Regions from separate parts of the Homo sapiens genome. Here all the other regions are linked to region 3. Evidence: promoter capture Hi-C in 16 types of primary human blood cells and fetal thymus (Javierre and others, 2016). All regions are on one chromosome and are shown on one strand. Each heading gives the region's core, a stretch centred on a gene start or on the middle of the fragment in contact. The rest is flanking DNA. Distances are from core to core; before and after follow the strand shown. Region 1 has its middle 59 kb from the start of PLSCR5. Region 2 has its middle 19 kb from the start of PLSCR5. Region 3 holds the start of PLSCR4 (phospholipid scramblase 4). Region 4 has its middle 41 kb from the start of PLSCR5. Region 5 overlaps PLSCR1 (phospholipid scramblase 1).

The links. The method cuts DNA at HindIII sites, captures the fragments that hold promoters and counts their contacts. A CHiCAGO score of 5 or more calls a contact.
Region 1: a fragment that was not itself captured here is called in contact with the fragment with the promoter of PLSCR4 in region 3 in 4 of 17 cell types (naive CD8 T cells, monocytes, activated CD4 T cells and 1 more); the score reaches 7.3 in naive CD8 T cells.
Region 2: a fragment that was not itself captured here is called in contact with the fragment with the promoter of PLSCR4 in region 3 in 14 of 17 cell types (M2 macrophages, total B cells, naive CD8 T cells and 11 more); the score reaches 10.8 in M2 macrophages.
Region 4: a fragment that was not itself captured here is called in contact with the fragment with the promoter of PLSCR4 in region 3 in 13 of 17 cell types (naive CD4 T cells, naive CD8 T cells, activated CD4 T cells and 10 more); the score reaches 10.0 in naive CD4 T cells.
Region 5: a contact is called between a fragment that was not itself captured here and the fragment with the promoter of PLSCR4 in region 3, in 4 of 17 cell types (erythroblasts, naive B cells, naive CD8 T cells and 1 more). The highest score is 9.8, in erythroblasts.

The regions. Positions count from the first base shown.
Region 1 is chr3:146,662,269-146,666,253 of GRCh38, forward strand. No RefSeq gene overlaps it. Among named protein-coding and RNA genes, the nearest start is that of PLSCR5, 59 kb to the left of the region's middle. The HindIII fragment of the contact is 717 bases long and covers 1,196-1,912 here.
Region 2 is chr3:146,622,319-146,626,336 of GRCh38, forward strand. No RefSeq gene overlaps it. Among named protein-coding and RNA genes, the nearest start is that of PLSCR5, 19 kb to the left of the region's middle. The HindIII fragment of the contact is 4,517 bases long and covers 1-4,018 here.
Region 3 is chr3:146,249,637-146,253,218 of GRCh38, forward strand. PLSCR4 (phospholipid scramblase 4) reads right to left here and starts at 1,469. Exons shown (of 9, transcript NM_020353.3): 1 at 1,324-1,469. The HindIII fragment of the contact is 7,000 bases long and covers 1-2,516 here.
Region 4 is chr3:146,644,491-146,648,047 of GRCh38, forward strand. No RefSeq gene overlaps it. Among named protein-coding and RNA genes, the nearest start is that of PLSCR5, 41 kb to the left of the region's middle. The HindIII fragment of the contact is 837 bases long and covers 1,737-2,573 here.
Region 5 is chr3:146,523,553-146,527,099 of GRCh38, forward strand. It overlaps PLSCR1 (phospholipid scramblase 1), which reads right to left. Exons shown (of 9, transcript NM_021105.3): 5 at 2,053-2,095. Among named protein-coding and RNA genes, the nearest start is that of PLSCR1, 19 kb to the right of the region's middle. The HindIII fragment of the contact is 2,141 bases long and covers 1,129-3,269 here.

The DNA.
Region 1 (3,985 bases), core at 304-2,803, 410 kb after region 3:
ATCTGCAAAGAAGAACTGGTACCATTCCTCCCACAACTTTTCTAAAAAAATCCAGGTGAAGGGAATCCTCCCTAATTATTTCTACAAAGCCAGTCACCCCAATACCAAAGCCAGGCATTGACATAACAAAAAAAAAAAAAAAAGAGAGAGAGAGAAAAACAACTATAAACCAATACCTCTGATAAACTAAGCTGCAAAAATCCTCAACAAAATACTAGAAAACCAAATCCAATACTACATTAAAGGATAATTCACCTAAATCAAGTGGGCTTCATTCTAGGGATGCAAAGATGGTTCAACATATATAAATCAATCCATGTAATTCCACATAAATACAATTAAAAACAAAAACCATATGATCATCTTAATTAATGAAGAAAAAACATTTGATAAAATTTAGTATCCTGTCATGATAAAAACATTCAACAAACTAGGTATAAAAGGAAAATATCTCAAAATAATAAGAGCCGTCTGTGACAAACCCACAGCAAACATCATACTGAATGGGCAAAAGCTGGGTGCATTCCCCTTAAAAACTGGATCAAGACAAAGAAATGGAAGAAACTTCCAGGCTGGCAGATCAGAACTGATATTATTAAGATCACCATACTAGCACAAACAATCTACAGTTTCAATGTAATTCCTATCAAAATACCAACATTATTTTTCACAGAATTTGACAAATAATCCTAAAATTCACATGGAACCAAAAAAGAGCCCAAATAGCCAAAGCATTCCTAAGCAGAAAGAACAATGGTGGAGGCATCACATTATCTGACCTCAAAGTATACTACCAGGTAATAGTAACCCAAATAGCATAGTACTGTATAAAAATAGACACATAGATCAATGGAACAGAACCCAGAAGTAAAGGCATACACCTACCACCAACTAAAATTTGACAACATTGACAAAAATACTGGGAAAAGGACAGCCTTTTCAATAAATGTTGCTGGGAAAATTGAATTGCCATATGCAGAAGAGTGAAACTGGATCCCTATCTCACCCTATGTACAAAAATTAACTCCAGAAGGATTACAGACTTAAATGTAAGACATGAAACTATAAAAATACAGGAAGAAAACATCAGAAAACTTTCCTGGACATTTGCCTAGGCAAAGAATTTATGATAAAGACTCCAAAAGCAAATGCAGCAAAAACGAAAATAGAAAAATGGCATTTGATTAAACTGAAAAGCTTCTGCACAGCAAAAGAAATAATTAACAAGTGAATAGACAACATGCAGAATGGAAGAAAATATTTAAATACTATGCATCTGACAAAGGATTAATATCCAGAATCTATAAGGAGCTCAAATAACTCAACATGAAAAAACAACCCAAAAGAAATTATTATATCAAAAATATAATTCTACCTGCATGTTTATCACATCACTGTTCACAACAGCAACAATATGAAATCAACTTAAATCTTCATCAATAGATACCTGGAAAAAGCAAATTTGGCATATATATATATACAATTGAATGCTACTCAGCCATAAAAATTAATGAAATCCTGTGTTTTGCAACAACATGGATGAAACTGGAGGCCATTATCTTAAGTGAAACGGCTCAGAAACAGAAAGTCAAATAGCACATGTTGCCACTTATAAGTAAGAGGTAAATAAGGTACACGAACGGAAATAGAGTGTGGAACAACAGACACTGGAGATTTGGAAGGATGAGAGGAGATCAGGAGGGGGTGAGAAATAGTATGTACCATGCACATTATTCAGATGATGACTACCCTAAAATCTCAGACTTTACCATTATGCAATATATCCATGTAACAAAACTGCACTTGTACCCCTTAAATCTACACAAATTTTTAAAAAAGAAAAAAAGTAAAAAAAAAGTCTTACTTTTAGTTTTCAAAACCTGAAGGCCTTATGAACATACTGCAAAACTTAAGCTTCATAACCTTTTTGGTAAGTTTGCTTCAGGTGATCCTGTTTGTTTCATGGGTGAGGAAACTTAAGACAGTGCAAATGATGAAATCAATATTCAAATATAGGTCTTTCTGATTGCAAAATCAATGTTTCCAACAACTCTGTTATACCTTGTCAAGGCAGTTCATTAGCAAAATCAGAAATCATGTAACAAGCTTAGGCTTGGCACTGGTTAATCACGCCTTATTTATTCCTATGTTCACCTTAACACAATTCAAACAACTGAAATATGTGTGTTAAACTCAATGGCTTTTTAAAAATATATGCTATAAGATACAACAAAGGTCACCAAAGAGTTAATGAGAAGCAGAAAAAATGGAGCTTAGAGTGAAGGGATCCGTGAAGCAAGGGGTTGTGGATTCAAGGAGGGTCTAGGGAAAGGAATTCTGCTGGATGAACATGGCCTAGGGCAGCAGAAATTCTTCAAATTCACAGAAACCAAGAAACACCTTCCTGCGTTTTTTAACAACACTGGTAAGTGGATCAAACAAAAATAGCTAGGAAATTTTGCTATCCATCTTTTTTTGAGAAACTCGTGATGAACAGGAAGACAGGTCATGAGCCTGTGTTATTATACTCCCCGTTATTAATTCGCCCTGAAAAGACTAAATAGTAATTACCCCCACACATTTATATGTATACTTAGTGATATACTCCATTTGCAAAAAGGAACTTCAAGAAATTCCCGTATACATGAAAATACAATGTACTTTTCACTTCTTTCATGTAGTCCCTAATTTTCCTTACCTGTCTGCCCATGGCTGAAATTTCTTTAACTGGTGTCAAGTGTTTTATTCAACTAAGAGACATGTCTTAAAATGTAAATGCTAGAATGCTAGCTCTTAAAAATATTTTAAGTGAAACTCATTTACCCTAATCAAAAGTAATCATTCCTTTCTAGATTAAATTGATCCAGAAAGCTCCTGCAAGAAAAAGGACCAAAGTTGGCTGATCCTGAAGCTTGAGACAAGATAGGGCCTCAAAAGATGAGTGTAATGTAAACATATCTTGCATTCCACAACTCACAACTGTAGTTGGAGTTTTCATGTTAACTTACACATGTGTGTATACAAATAATCTGTACAGAAAGATATTATTGACAAGCTTGAAAATAGATGTGCATTGTTAGGTTGAAATGCTTTTGAGTCTCACTCATGAATATAGCTAGTCTGCTTCAAGTTTACTTATGGAGTTCTTCCATTCTGCCCACCCGCTACCGTTTTTAAAGCAGTCAACCGTGTTTAGAGGAACATTTATTCCCAAAGGATATATTTGAAAAATAACAATCTTTGGATTCAGGATAACTAACAAATTCAATATAGAATAAATAAATAATGAACCCACACTTAGACGAGTGCTAGTAAATTTACAGAATGTCAAGGAAATAAGATTATCAAAAATACCAGACAAAAAAAGAAAAATCACCTTCCCCAAATCAGTTGCAATGAAGAATGATTTACCAATAACAACACTGGAAGCTAGAAGACAGAGGAATAATATCTTCAAGAAGATGAGAGAAAATAACTTTAAGCCTAGATTTCCAGCAAAAGTATCTTTCAAGAATATGAACAAAATCAAGATATTTTTAGAAAAATAAGAACTGAATTTACTACCAATAGAGTCTGTCTTTAAAAATATTAAAAGACATTTCTAGAAAGAAGAGACTGAGTTTAGATGCAAAAAAAAAAAAAAGAAGTAGTGAGCAAAGATAACTAATACTGACTGAGAAAATCATAATAATGACTTTTTAAATATAGTGTGTATTTATAATACATAGTTAAAATTCTGATTCTATCAAATTGTTCACTCCCACTGGGACTTTCAGTCCATTCACCCTGACACTTTCCTATTTCCCTCTTCTTCTTACTTCCACAGATTAAGCATTATATACACCCCCACTATATACACAAGACTCTATACCCCCGTGTATATACCCTTCTCTATTTTGCCTTTACTGACTTTGCTTTTCATGGCAGAGCCAGCATATAGTCTTGCTTACCACCGATCCATATCTGCATCTCTATAGGTGAATTG
Region 2 (4,018 bases), core at 925-3,424, 370 kb after region 3:
ACTTTTTGTAATCCACCTATGAATAAAACCCAAAGGTCTTGGTTATACATAAATAATAGAAGATAAATTATATAAACCTTGAAAACATAACAGCAGTTGTGTATGTGTACACACACACACACACACACACACACATTTATATATATGGAGAAAGAAAGCGTGATTTCCTTAGGTAGCTAACCTATATTGAGAATAAATAGATACTGTTAAATTGATAAATCAGGAATTTGAAGCATTATGTTAGGTTAATCTTATAAGTGTTTCTATGTATTTATAATATTTAGAGAGTTGAATATTTTTAGAGTATTTTAAGATTATTTTCTGACATCTATCCCAAGAAAAATGAGTAAATTGTTAAAAAATACAATGGAACCAGAGTTTGGAGAATGGAATATAAAACTCATATTTTAAAACTTTTATATGGTTTGATATCATGTTTTGAGCATTAGGCACTTTAAACAAATTTAAAATCAAAATATTTCTTTTTTTTTTTGCAATTATCATTTATTAGTTGTGTAATCACAGATAGGCAACTTTAACTTTTTGAAAGCATATACTTTTAGGTTAATTAAATGAAAGAATGGACATGGAAGTAGTTTAAAAACAATATAGCATTAATAAATACAAAGTGGGAAAAACACAACTAGAGTGACACTTTGTTAAAAAAATCAAAATATTTCTTGTTCTGCAATCTGTAGTGGCATTTCTCACAGAAAAAGGGAGTGTCTAGGAATTTTTATTTCTCTCCTAATTGAAGATGAACATAAGCATATCTGCTAGATTTTCTACTGTACTTTTATTTATTTATTTATTTATTTATTTATTTATTTATTTATTTATTTTAAGACGGAGTCTCGCTCTGTCGCCCAGGCTGGAGTGCAGTGGCGCCATCTCGGCTCACTGCAAGCTCCACCTCCCGGGTTCACACCATTCTCCTGCCTCAGCCTCTGGAGTAGCTGGGACTACAGGCGCCCGCCCCCACGCCCGGCTAATTTTTTGTACTTTTTTTAGTAGATACGGGGTTTCACTGCGTTAACCAGGGTGGTCTTGATCTCCTTACCTCGTGATCCGACCGCCTCGGCCTCCCAAAGTGCTGAGATTATAGGCGTGAGCCACCGCGCCCGGCCTCTATACTTCTTTTTAGATTGTCCCCTTGCTTCCTTTTTCCTGTTAGGGAGATGCAGAGGCATATATCAGTGGAACTGAGATTCTGAATGTGGAGCATGAGCACAAGGAAGGGCTAGTCATGCAATGCCTGAGTGTGCATGAGGAAGGGACCTCCTACAGTCAGGGTACCAATAGAAACTCGATGACACCTTCAAAACGGAAGAAGATCCAGAATGCTCATTTGCAAAGGCATTATTTATAAATCTGTGAGTGTGGGACAAAAGACAAATACCCCTTAGTCTATTAGTCAGTCCTAAAGAGAAATATATGAATTAAAACAAGAATCCAGAAGAATAGAGTCACAGAGGTTGGCTGTCTTGAGAGGGATTGAGACAGGGAAATAGCTACTCTGACCTCACTGTCCTCCCACCTTCCCAATCTCCCGGCTCTTCACTGACTAAATGCCAACAAGAAGACAGAGGACATGAAAATTTTGTTTTGTAGGACAAAGAAGTCAACTTCCCTGGGCAGAGAGCAGGGTGGGGATGGGTGGAGACGGACAGAGAGTGGGTGTCTGGGGCTAAAATAAAGATCTGTCATGGAATCCCTACATTGAGACCCTTTTCTGGTTTTGTTAGAACTGAGATGTTACTTTTGTCTGTCATAAAAATCACTGGAATCAATGATTTTTGCCCTGTGTGCAATTGAGTGGCCTTCTCATAGATAATATGACGTTGTATACTGCACAACTTACAAAGCCATGCCTCATGTGTGAGCAAAAATTCAGAATTAGGAACATAGCATGACTCCATGAGTGATGTCTTTTGCTTAAAATGCCCCCTCTAACCAGTAAAATGGAGCTACTGTGATTTTAAAATTTATTACATCACCAGGGTCACACTGATAGAATTCAGAAGTGGGAAACCAGTCCCATCAAAGTGTAGCAGGTCCTAAAAGCCATTATTGGGAAATTCCTTCAAATTCATTCCATTTTCTACAGCCCTTGTTTAGAATATGTATACCCATGGTTTGGGAAACACAACAAAATAATTCTTATTAGAGAATAATGACTTTAAATAATATTTTTTTCTTAAAAAATAAGCCTAGGGTGTATCTCTACATCCCTTGTTTCATGTGAGAAAGGGAATACTTGAAGAAGGAAAACGGAAGGAAGAAAATTCACATACGCTTCACATATTTTGCATCAGATGCTACAATAAGGGATTGCGTGCACACACACACACACACACAGAGACACACACACAGATTTAATTACAGCGAATTGATATGGTGAGTAATTTTCTCTTAATTTCACAAATGCTGTGTATGTTTTCTACAAAATTTGGTTCCAGCCATGTTTGTTGATTGTTTTTCAGTTGAAGGTGATTATGAGCCATAAAATAACCCAAATTAGAAAAGGAAAGAAAGGTGATAAAGTAACAAACCAGATCAATGAATTTTAAAATGTGTCTTGAGAAAACCTCAGGTCCCAAGAAGAGGTCTCTTGGACAGCTGTGTGTATGAGGGTCAGTACAAGATTGGGGGCTTCGGTGAGGCTGAGCAGGTGGGATTCTGGTTTCCCATTTCCTCTTTTTTAATCAGGAAGTTTTGATTTTATCTCAAAATTTTCTTTAAAACAATTGGCCTAGAAAGTCTAAAAATTTTGTGATCAATTACTTCATGTTCACTCAAAATTCCTCTAATATACCAGTGGAATAAGGCTTTCAAATATTACACTTAAGTAGAAATAAAGTAATATTCAGGTTGCTATTCACAAAAAACTCAGTATTACCTATTTTGCTCCACAAACAAAGGTCCATTAAGTCATTGAAAGCCAGATAGTTTATTAAACAAATATGCGATCCCACATGAGCAGTTCCTTCAGAAAGTGAAAGTGAGAAAAGGAGTACCATGTGACCTCTCAGGCTAAAGATTATTTTCATGTTCTTGTTTAAAATCTGGCATTTATCTGTTTTAGGGAGTTCTCTTATTGTCTTCTTACTCTTATCAAGATAATATTCAATTAGTAAGCAAGCATAATTTGTCCATTTACTGTATAAATATTGCATTTTCATGTTGATACTGAATCTAGAAGCAATCTGTAATTTTTTCCAGGCAGGCGGAGGTATGAAACCTGCCTATCAAGTAACACAGAATGCCTTAAGTGGCTCTGCCACCAAGATATCTTGATAAAAGAGTGAGGGAATTATAGTCCCTCTGTTGTGCTATCACACACCAGGTCTTATTCTTTCTATTTTTTTTGTACACATATAGAGTGTACAAAAGAGTATAATTGGATTGTTTGTAACACAAAGGAGGTAATGGATATTGCATCGCATGCCTGTATCAAATATCTTATATAACTCATAAATATATAAGCCTACTATGTACCCACAAAAATTAAAAACAAAAATTTAAAAATAAAAGAGAAATAAGACATCAAAAAATTTTTAAAAAAAGAGTGAGAGGAAAATAATTCAAGATAGATTTATCTTTCATTTATAACTGAAATAGGATTTCCAAAGCAGGAGACCATAGGGAATCTCCCAGAAGCCCACCACACTCCTCCTCCTTATTGGCATGCTAGAGGAAAGCAAAGGGTCCGATGATCTTCCAGTTTAAATCAATGAAGAAAAACAAACTATATCTGAGAGTTTTCCATTTTAAAAATTATTATATATAGGAAAAAAGGAATACATAAATTTTCATCTAATTCATTTGGACTGTTTCAATTTATTTACATTTGGATATATTAGTGTACAAAAGAACTCAAGAAGAAAACCCATTGTTTAGTCAAGTAAAACAAACAAAACAATGGCAAGGAAGAAATGTGAAGATTATAGTAGGATCTGGCTAGGATTTGGTTGCAAGTATTTGTAGATAAGGAAATTGAAGCAAGGGCTTACACATC
Region 3 (3,582 bases), core at 219-2,718:
CATAATTATATATTTTGTATTTTATTATTTGTAATATATTATACATAACGTTAATATGTTTGTTCTTCCACATGAGCTAAACAGTACAGTTAAAAACAGTAACAAAAATATTCAGTTAGGATTCTACTTATACGTTGTTTTAGAGAAATGATATCTTTACCTAGAAGAATGTTATGTATTTTATTGGATTCTCATACATACCTTTTTATATCTTCTTAAAAATAATTTCTCAATTGTGTGTTATTTCATGCCAAACTGAATTTTACTTTATTTTACTGTATTATCTAGTTTATGTATAAACATCAACTGACTTCTATAAATTAAGTATGATGCAATTGGAAACTTTGATAAATTCACTTATGCTTCCCATCAAATTTCAGTGTTTCCTATGGACATTAAGGTATACACTCACATCATGCATAAAGTGATAATATGTTCCCCTACCTGTTGTCACTCGCCCATAGAATTCACAACCATGTCACAGAGTGTAATGATTAGCATTCTTGTCTTTTTCAAATTTAATGGAAATGCTGCTAGTATTTCACAGCTATCCATGAGAGCAGATAGACAGATGGAGGTTGTGTTCTATTACTATTACAGGAGAATGCAATTTAAATTAGGCAATCTATTCCCCTTTAAGCAGTATCAAGTTTGGTGCATTATATCTTCACAAGTACTTATTTTGGTGGCTCCATTCTAAATGCAGTATAAAATTAAAAACTAAATTGTAGATCCTAAGAGAAGATAAGGCCACAAAATAAAATCCTAAGTCTTTAAATATGAACGTTTTTAAAAACAAATCAAGCACAGCCCCAAATCGCCCCAGTTTGCCAGAATTGGAAATAAGAGAGAGGGATTCTCTCCTGTCACCGCCTCCACTCGCTGAGCAATTAAAAAGTTACTATAAATAGCGTTTTTACCTGCGAGTGGCCTGGCCTGAGTCCGTGAGAGCCGCGCCGTAGAAACGCCAGAGACCCATGAGAAACCCAATCAAGCGAGACCTGTCACGCAGAGCGAAACGAAAGGGCCGCCCCCGTGAAGTGCAGCCAGGACCCCCATCCCTGGGCAGGAAACTGCTCGCTCCCAAACCCTCTGCGTCTGCAGTGCAGACGCGCGCCCGACACCACGGAACTTCTGCAACCACCTGAGGATGCGACGCGAGCGCAGTGTCCGGGAACTGCTAGCGCAGGACGCCGCGCAACCTCCGCGCCTGCCCGCAGGCACCGCGGCCTCGGGCCTCCCCTGACGACGCCCTCGGCCCCGCAGCCCGGGCGCCCGCGCCACCCTGTCCTGCTCTGCGCCCGCCTGTCCAGCCCCACTCACCGCCTGCCCCGCAGAATGCTGGGCACCGGGGACGCCAGACGCCGGGTCTAGTTGTACTGGCAGAGGAAAGGGAAAGGAAAGGAGGCAGGGAAGGGAGACGGAGAGGATTTTTCAAGTTATAAACAAAGTAAGCGCGCGGAAGGGAGGGCTAGGCGCGGGTTCTGGGGGCGGGTCCGGCACGCCTGGACCCTCCTTCCCCGCGCGCGGCTTCCCCGTCTCGGACCCCGCCCCGCGCTGGGAGAGCCGCCAGCCCGGGGGAGCGTCTTCCTGGAAGAGGTGGGGCACCCTGAAGTCCGCTGAAACCTAAAAGCCGAGGGGGAGGAAGAAATGAAGAAAATAAGTTGTCACTACTCTAATAAGAGGTGAAAGAAAAGATAAAAGCCAGCCCACGGTCACTTCCAATCAGAGGGGCAGGTTGCAGGGCCTGGGAAAGGGAGCTTTGTTCATAGATTACTGCGCCTAGAGAGAAAATGAAGAAACCCCTCTTTCTCAAGAGCCTTTTTTATTTTTTTATTTTTATTTTTGATACGGAGTCTCACTCTGTCGCCCAGGCTGGAGTGCAGTGGCGCGATCTCGGCTCACTGCAAGCTCCGCCTCCCAGGTTCAGGCCATTCTCCTGCCTCAGCCTCCCTAGCAGCTGGGACTACAGGCGCCCGCCACCACGCCCGGCTAATTTTTTGTATTTTTTACTAGAGACGGGGTTTCACCGTGTTAGCCAGGATGGTTTCGATCTCCTGACCTCGTGATCCGCCCGCCTCGGCCTCCAAAAGTGCTGGGATTACAGGCGTGAGCCACTGCACCCGGCCTCAAGAGCCTTTTTGATTTGCATTTGCGCCCACCCCCAGGTCCTTGGCTTGGTGATTTAGCCTTGGCAATGCCGTGCTGGCTGGAAACACTTGGGCATAGGGCCCAGAAATTCTGTTTTCTTTTCCACAGAATTGGGGGAGGCCAATTTGATCTTGGAGGGAAGGCGGGAGAGACGCCAATAAAGGGGAAAGGGAGCAGGTTGCCCATGTTTTCTGACATTGGGAGAAAAATGCCATTTGCTTATTACTGTTAGGCACAAATATTTCTTTCAGACCAATGGGATTCAGTTCTGTGGTGGTGCTTGGAGAGAAGCACAATACACTGACAGGAAGTGGGAGAACTGAAGGTCCTCTGACCTTATAAAGAATCAGAACTGGACAGAAGTAAGCTTGATTAAGCTCTGAGGAGTACTTGGCAGAACCCCATTGTGGGAGAAGGTTGGAAAGGGGAAGGGATGTGGGAGTGGAGTTCTAGAATTTTATATTTTTCTTTGTATGTGTGTTATTTGTTAATATTCATGTGAGAATAGATTAAAAAATTCATACTGTTCTTCTCAGTAATAATTGCACAGAACATTTCTCAGATGCAGACATAGTGTTTTACTGAAAGCATAAAACAAAGAAACTGGTGGTGAAACTAAATTATAATAGCATATGTTACTGTTGGGAGCAAGCCCCCCAAAATCTGGCCATAAACTGGCCCCAAGACTGGCCATAAACAAAATCTCTGCAGCACTGTAACATGTTCATAATGGCCCTAATGCCCAAGCTGGAAGGTTGTGGGTTTACGGGAGTGAGGGTGAGGAACACCTGGCCCGCTCAGGGCGAAAACCGCTTAAAGGCATTGTTAAGCCACAAACAATGAGCATGAGCGGTCTGTGTCTTAAGGGCGTGTTCCTGCTGCAGTTAATCCGGCCCATCCCTTCGTTTCCCTTAAGGGATACTTTTAGTTAATTTAACATCTATAGAAACAATGCTAATGACTGGTTTGCTGTTAATACGTGGGTAAATCTCTGTTCGGGGGTGTCAGCTCTGAAGGCTATGACACCCCTGATTTCCCACTTGACACCTCTATATTTCTGTGTGTGTGTCTTTAATTCCTCTAGCGCCGCTGGGTTAGGGTCTCCCCGACTGAGCTGGTCTCGGCATGTTACCTTTGTTTAAAATTTATGAAAGAGGCCAAGTAATTGAGCTTATGAATGTAAACATCCACAGTGGCCACGTGAAGATACCAAAAATTTCAAGAGCAAAACATGTCTTGTGAAACATATTGCTTTGAGGGATTAAAATAAAATCAAGTATGTCATATACCCCAAATCACAACTTTCGAGGGGAAGAAGAAGAACTCAATTTCCTGTTTTTCTGAAATTTCCTGATCTGATGACTTTCCAACCTGGACATTTCGAGGGATGACAAATTAACTACTTTTTATACTAATCCCATTTTAGTTGCT
Region 4 (3,557 bases), core at 905-3,404, 400 kb after region 3:
GCCACTAATTAGTACAAATTACTTAAGGTCTTTGAGCCACAGTCTTCATCTGACAAATTGGGATACAAAATATTTGTTTTATTTGGTTGTTACGGGGATTAAGTCAGATACTGTATGCAAAGCATTTACGAGTACTCCCGACACTGTGTTCAATATATAGCAGAGTTTAAACGTCATTATGACATTAGCAACCATTTGTTTTTTTTTTTAAGGCAGACATTGAAAGTGAAATTCGAACGAGATTGAAAATGTCCTACATCCTAAATCTCAGGTACTCTTCTCTGAAATATTATACAAAAGCATTTTAATATCAGTCAAAGGAGCATCATTTTAAACAACAATTTTGTAGGGTTTATTATTGTTTTACCAAATTAATAAGCTAAAACAGCTTGAATTTTCTAGTGTTTTTGAAATTATTTTTCTCCTATGTAAAAGTTAATGTAATTTTAGTGAAAACATAAACCTAAAGGGATAAGCCTCTTAAAATATAATAATGCATTGTTAGATTTTTGTGGACTTGTCATAATTCTGGGTGTTCTTTCCTGCATACTTATTAAGAAATCTGGGAAGTATAAATAATATTGACGTATTGATGCCATCTGATCATTAACTGATTGGAATGAATGATAAATAGGAGTTTTATTAGCATGTGATATTGAATTTGTTTTGAAATTTAGTCTCTTCTAATGATATGCTAAGTTCAAATCCTTAATAACCTGGTTGTTGGCATTCTTAGCCAGGCATAGTGGCTCATGCCTGTAATCCTAGCACTTTGGGAGGCCTAGGTGGGAAGACCACTCGAGGTCAGGAGTTTGAGACTAGCCTGGCTGACATGGCGAAACTCCATATCTACCAAAAATACACAAATTAGCCAGGTGTGGTGGTGGGCACCTGTAATTCCAGCTACTCAGGAGGCTGAGGCAGGAGAATTGAATGAACCCGGAAGGCGGAGGTTGCAGTGAGCCAAGATGACATCGCTGCACTCTAGCCTGGGCAACAGAGTAAGACTCTGTCTCAAAAAACAAAACAAAACAAAATAATAAAAAATTTTTAAAAAGTTAAAAAAAGTGACTCTTCTTAGTTTTCCATGTGACCTTCAATTTAGTCTTTATTTAACCTTGGGAAATGAATGCTAGTGTATAATTAGTAAAATTAGAAATTAAGATTTGTATTTAGGATCTAAACTAGAAATACATTGCTAGCCATTAATATACATGTCAGTGTTACTGAAAACAGTTTTATATAACCACCCACCCACCCAACTTTGCTCCTTTTGTAAAAGTGACCCGTAAATTCATGGTTCAGGCACCATACGCAACTGTTGCTGAGTATCTGAGTCAAGTAAAAAACATTTATCTTTTTGATTACATGCCTTCTGTTATATGTAAATTTTTACAAGGTTTCATTTTTTTTTTGGCAAGTCATAATTTGTTTTATATAATCTAAGTTTCAATGAAATCTCCATCCCTCAATGATCTTAACAAATTTCCATTTTTAAAGGTTACCTCTAGATTTTTAAAATCTGTGTTTTAAATTACAACGGTAACAGACAAAATATTTAATGACTGTGTTTACACTTTTACTTCTGTCCTCTGATCTACTTATGATACTGAAAGATTATGCAGAATGTTTGATATTATCTACATTCCATGTTGACAAAATACAAGGGTGCAACAGAGTCGATTACTGGGAAGAAATTTTTAAAAATTATTTAATAAGTTAGCTGGAATAAGATAAGCTTTCTTATTATGATAGAATTTTTTCAAATTTTTAAAACATGATTTTAAAAATGAACTGCTTGTAATGTACCAGTTATATTCAACTCAGACACAAACAACCGAACATGTACAGATAGCTCAGTGCTCTTGACACCAACAAAAACATTGCCTAATGCAAGAAAGAAAGACAGGTCCTTCTAATTGTATAACAGTGGAAGGATACTTGCATAATTACAGGGCTACAGTAACAGCTGTGTACAACGTCCACTATCCTGCACTGCAGGCGGTAATTTACCCATGTACTTCCCATTCATATGAATGGAAAACAGTCGGGGGTGCCTCTTTTGAATCCTATGTGTATAGCAGACATTTTAAGCAACTATCATTGAAAATTTCTTGTTTTAATATTGCATAAAAATATGGCTTTTTAAAAATACTGGACTTTCCTACCCAACAGAGCTTTTAAGTGCTATGCTTAAAGTATTTGTCACTTTGCTTTTCATCTGAAATTATTACTTTATTATTTTCATATTCTAAGGCACATGTGAAGGGTAACAGCAACAAAATCTTCTTGGTTGAGATGTAGGTCTAATGAAAATATTTGATTAAACCTTGTCTTCCCGTTAACATTTCTAAATGTAGTAAGTACAGTAGCATTAAAAAAGCTAGATGTCAAATACACTTTTAGATCAGTTGCATATTGTAAAATTGACTTCAGTAGTCATTTTACTTGAAAATATTTTCAAAATGTTTTTAGTATCTATTTACTTACATAGAAGTTTCTGCCTTTCTAATCTCAACCTGAGAAGAGATTTGAGGACTAGGAAATAAACAAAATGGCTTCTGCACAACTGAAGCTTCTGGCTTAAATCTTCACAGCAAAAAACCATACATTGTCTTCAGGAGAGATCCTTAGCTTTTGGTCAGAAGCCACTTTCTCTTACTTAGCACACAATTATTATTAACAAATAAACAAAGTAAGAGATTTATTTCTTAACATGGAGGCAATTAGAAACAGCAAAGGAGTGAAGACTGGATAGGAAAAAAGGTTTATTTTTGTCTCCCACCAACTCAACTCACATTTCAACTGCCTTCTACAGGTGACCCAAGTCTCCAGCACTGGGATCAATCACCTCATCATCTGGTATCCAGAACACTTATAAAAAACAAATTTACATCATGTTCAGTTTTGGTGCTGGGATATTTAAAAATTGCTATGAATGTTGGTCAAGTGTAGGAGCAAAGGCTTGGAACTCCTCACCTGTGCTGGTTACTACCTCATTAAGTTGCTGGATTCTGGGGGAATTCCAGAGCATCCCAGCACCTTGGCTGCTGGGGTAACAGGGAAGCACTCAGAGAACAAAGGCAGTAGTTATTTGCCAGCAATATGGAAATACGTGGTATTTCAACAACCAATAAGTAAGTATGGGTGAAGATCTATTTCTTAATCATTTTAACATCCCCAACTGACAGAAGACCAGACAAGTTGTTGGAAACTGAATAAGTAGTCTTTGGAACATTAGATTACAAAGAGCATTTACCAAGAATCTGTTCTTGCAGTGAAACAGAGATGCTAAAGAAATGAAGAAAGCTGATAAAAGTAAAATTCATTATGTTAAGAGATGTGGAGTCCTGTAATGAATTAAATTAAAAAGGGGCATTTTGGTTTCAGATTTTATTTTTTTTCTCTTTGGAAAAAGCTCATGTTTTCTTTTAGTCAACCTTTCATTTACCTCTCGTCTACTTGCCAGTTGGTGTCCTATTTGGTGAAAGAGATACATGAAAGTTTGTGGAAGAAACTAAGATTTGAGTGAGAAAACACTTCCAATTATGACAAAG
Region 5 (3,547 bases), core at 949-3,448, 270 kb after region 3:
GAAAGATGAATTAGAATGTCACATTGGACCCAGGGCATCCTTATTCAACTCAACAGTAGTTGTTCAGAAGTGGGAGGTGGGTATTAGACAAACGTGTTCGGCAACCAAGGCTTCAACTCACAGAATATCTAGACCGTGGGAATCCTAAGTGAACTCTGCACCTTTGCTGGGCTAATCTATCTTCATGAGGGAAACAGATGGCTGCAAAATGCTGACACTCACATACTTTGTATCAAGGGCTTTCCATATCTAACCATACATTGGAAACCTCTCCATATTTAAAGCCAGAAAGGAGCAATAACTGTCCCATTTGTACATAGTCCTCAGTAACTGGGGTCATAGATGTCAGAAGCCTGGCTAAAATAATGAGTGATTAAAATAAATATATGGAGGAAAAGTCACTCTATAATGCCTATGTGGAAAGACTCTGAGTCGGATAAAGACGGCCTTCACAAGTCTTACCACCATGAACTCCTTTAAGTGTCCTTGGTGGGACACAGACAGACCCTGTACTCTGCATTTATAGGAACAACGTCTGATTTCAACATCTGAAATAGTCAAATGTTTGATGAGAAAAAAGTTAAGCTGATTTTGAGAGGACATTCATTATCTAATTAATTGTTACATTAAGTAGCTTAATCTCAAAAATCTCCAGCTTATTTGTAAAACAACATTGGTTTACATAACCTTTAAGTTTCTTTTCATTTACTTTAAAAATGTAAACAAATTGTTTATATTTTTATTGTCTTCTGTGTTTTGAATTGAGAAAAAAAAGTAAGTGCCTAGTTTATGCTCAGATTCTAAAAACCTGAGTAATCTTCATCTTTTTTATACCACTCATGAAAAAATAACATAGACTTTCAATTTTGGAGAAAAAGAAACAAAAAAAAAACTGGAGACATTTCTTTTTTGAAAAATAAGCATAATTAAAAACTGTTAGATTTGGAACTTTCTATTTCATAATTAACACATATTTAACAAATATTTATAAAGCCTATAAATCTACAAAAAAAGATAAATAGTGTGCTGTGTAATGTTTGGTTATATGTCTGTTTGGATTTTATAGCCTTACTAATATATACTATAAAACATTAAAAAATTCAGAATACAAAGCTGTCTTCCAGAGAAAGCTTTGTTTAGATACACTAAAAAAAAAATCAAGTAACTTATAAATAATAATGTGCTTTACAAATAACTTCAATGTAATAGATGACAATTGTATATTTTAGCCAAATCCATTATTCTGCTTATACAATTCATCTTCTAATTTTTACCAGTGGAAAGAAACTTTGGAGACAGGTGAAAATGAATTTAGCAGACATATTCCTAAAAACTGGAGAGTTTTATTTTTTATTAAACCTTTTTTATCTAGAAGGAAAACACTATGGTTCATAAATCTATCCAGGGTCTTCTTCCCCTGGCAGCCATTATAAAACATTAATTGGCTTCCTAGGTTTATTTTTGCACCTAAGGAGCCCTGGACCCAAGGAAATGTCAGGCCATTCAGCAGGAGCAGGAGTGCTCTTCTATGAAGCCAAGCCTGCAGGCTAGTTGGTCAGCATCCTCCCACACTGCAGTGGCCTGCATCTGACCTCGTATACAAAGGTTTTATAGGGTTCATCTTAACTCCCAAGAGAAACTGTGGGCACAAATGATAATTTTCCCAAACTTCCTCATCCAAATAAAAAAGATAACTTACTTTGGAATGTGGCTCTGTGCCATTCTTAAGCTGATCACAATTACGGAGAAAATAGCTTAAGTGGTAGAAGTCAGAAAAAAAGTGATGTATGAAGAGAGGAGCAAAATAAGGGTTTTGATTATTTTCCTTCTAAGTTAGTGTCAATATCCCGAGGGCAGGTGCCCAACATAACAGCATTTTACCTTTTGATTCCTAAATTTTAGAAATGAATTGCTGATAACATTTATTATTGTAAATAACTGGTTTAACTGTCCTATATAAGTGAGAGTGTTATATTTGTGGAGGTCAATGTGCCTTTATCTGCATAAACTTCTACTCTTTATAGAAACAGGATTAAAACAATGAATACATACCTTCCAGAAGTTCAATTTGCTGATGAATCAGTATCTGATCTATCTATAGCAGGAAAAAAAATAAGTGGTATGTATATGTCAAATGAAGGTTTTTATAAGCTAACCAAATTAAAATTCATGTATTTATATTTTTAAAGTACATGTAACCAATTATCAATATTTAACAGCTTATATTACTTTTTAGTGTAAAACTGAAGTTAATATTTTTAATTAATAAAATATTTATTGTGTTCATTATTAATGTGGAAAAATTTAGGTCAAATAAAATTGATTTATACTGGAGTACCTTTAAAAATTAGACAATTGAGGTGGCTCATGCCTGTAATCCCAGCACTTTGGGAGGCCAAAGTGGGCAGATCACGAGGTCAGGAGATCGAGACCATCCTGGCTGACATGGTGAAACCCTGTCTCTACTAAAAATACAAAAAATGAGCTGGGTGTGGTGGCAGGTGCCTGTAGTCCCAGCTACTTGGGAGGCTCAGGCAGGAGAATCGCCTGAACCCAGGCGGCAGATGTTGCAGTGAGCCGAGATCGCGCTACTGCACTCCAGCCTGGGCAACAAGCGTGAGACTCCATCTCAAAAAAAAAAAAAAAAAAAAAGAAAGAAAAAAAAAAGAAAAGAAAATTGATACAAAATGGCCAGTAAGTTTATGAAAAAATGCTCAACATCACTAATCACCAGGGAAATGAAATCCAAACCACAATGAGATATTATCTTTGTACAGTTAAGAATTTTTATCAAAAAGACAAAAAATAACAAATAATGGTAAAAATGTGGAGAAGGGGAAATCTGTTGGTGGGAAAGTAAATTAGAGCAGCCATTATGGAGAACAGTGTAGCGGTTCCTCAAAAATTAAAATTACAGCCACCATATGATTCAGCAATCCCACTACTGTTTTTTTTGAAACAGTATTTTTTCAAAATTTTCAAAACAAAAATTTTAAAGGAAAGGAAATCAATATGTCAGAGGTATCTGCAATCTCATGCTTATTGCAGCACTAACAGTCAATATATAGAATCAACCTAAGTATTCATCAATAGATAAATGAATAAAGAAAAATTCATTCTTAATACACACAATGGAATAAAAATCAGCCATAAAAATGAATGAAATCCTGTCATTGGCAGCAACATGGATGAGCCTAAGGGACATTATGTTAAGTGAAATAAGCCAGGCACAGAAAGAAAAATACTGAATGTTCTCACTCATACATGGAAGCTTAAAAAAATTGATTTCTTAGAAGTAGAGAGTAGAGGCCAGGCGCAGTGGTTCACGACTGTAATCCCAGCATTTTGGGAGGCCAAGGCAGGCGGATCACAAGTTCAGGAGTTCAAGACCAGCCTGGCCAGTATGGTGAAACCGTCTCTACTAAAAATACAAAAATGAGCTGGGTGTGGTGGCAGGAGCCTGTAGCCCAGCTACTTGGGAGGCTGAGGCAAGAGAATAGCTTGAACCCGGGAGGCGGAGGTTGCAGTGAGCCGAGATCGTGCCATT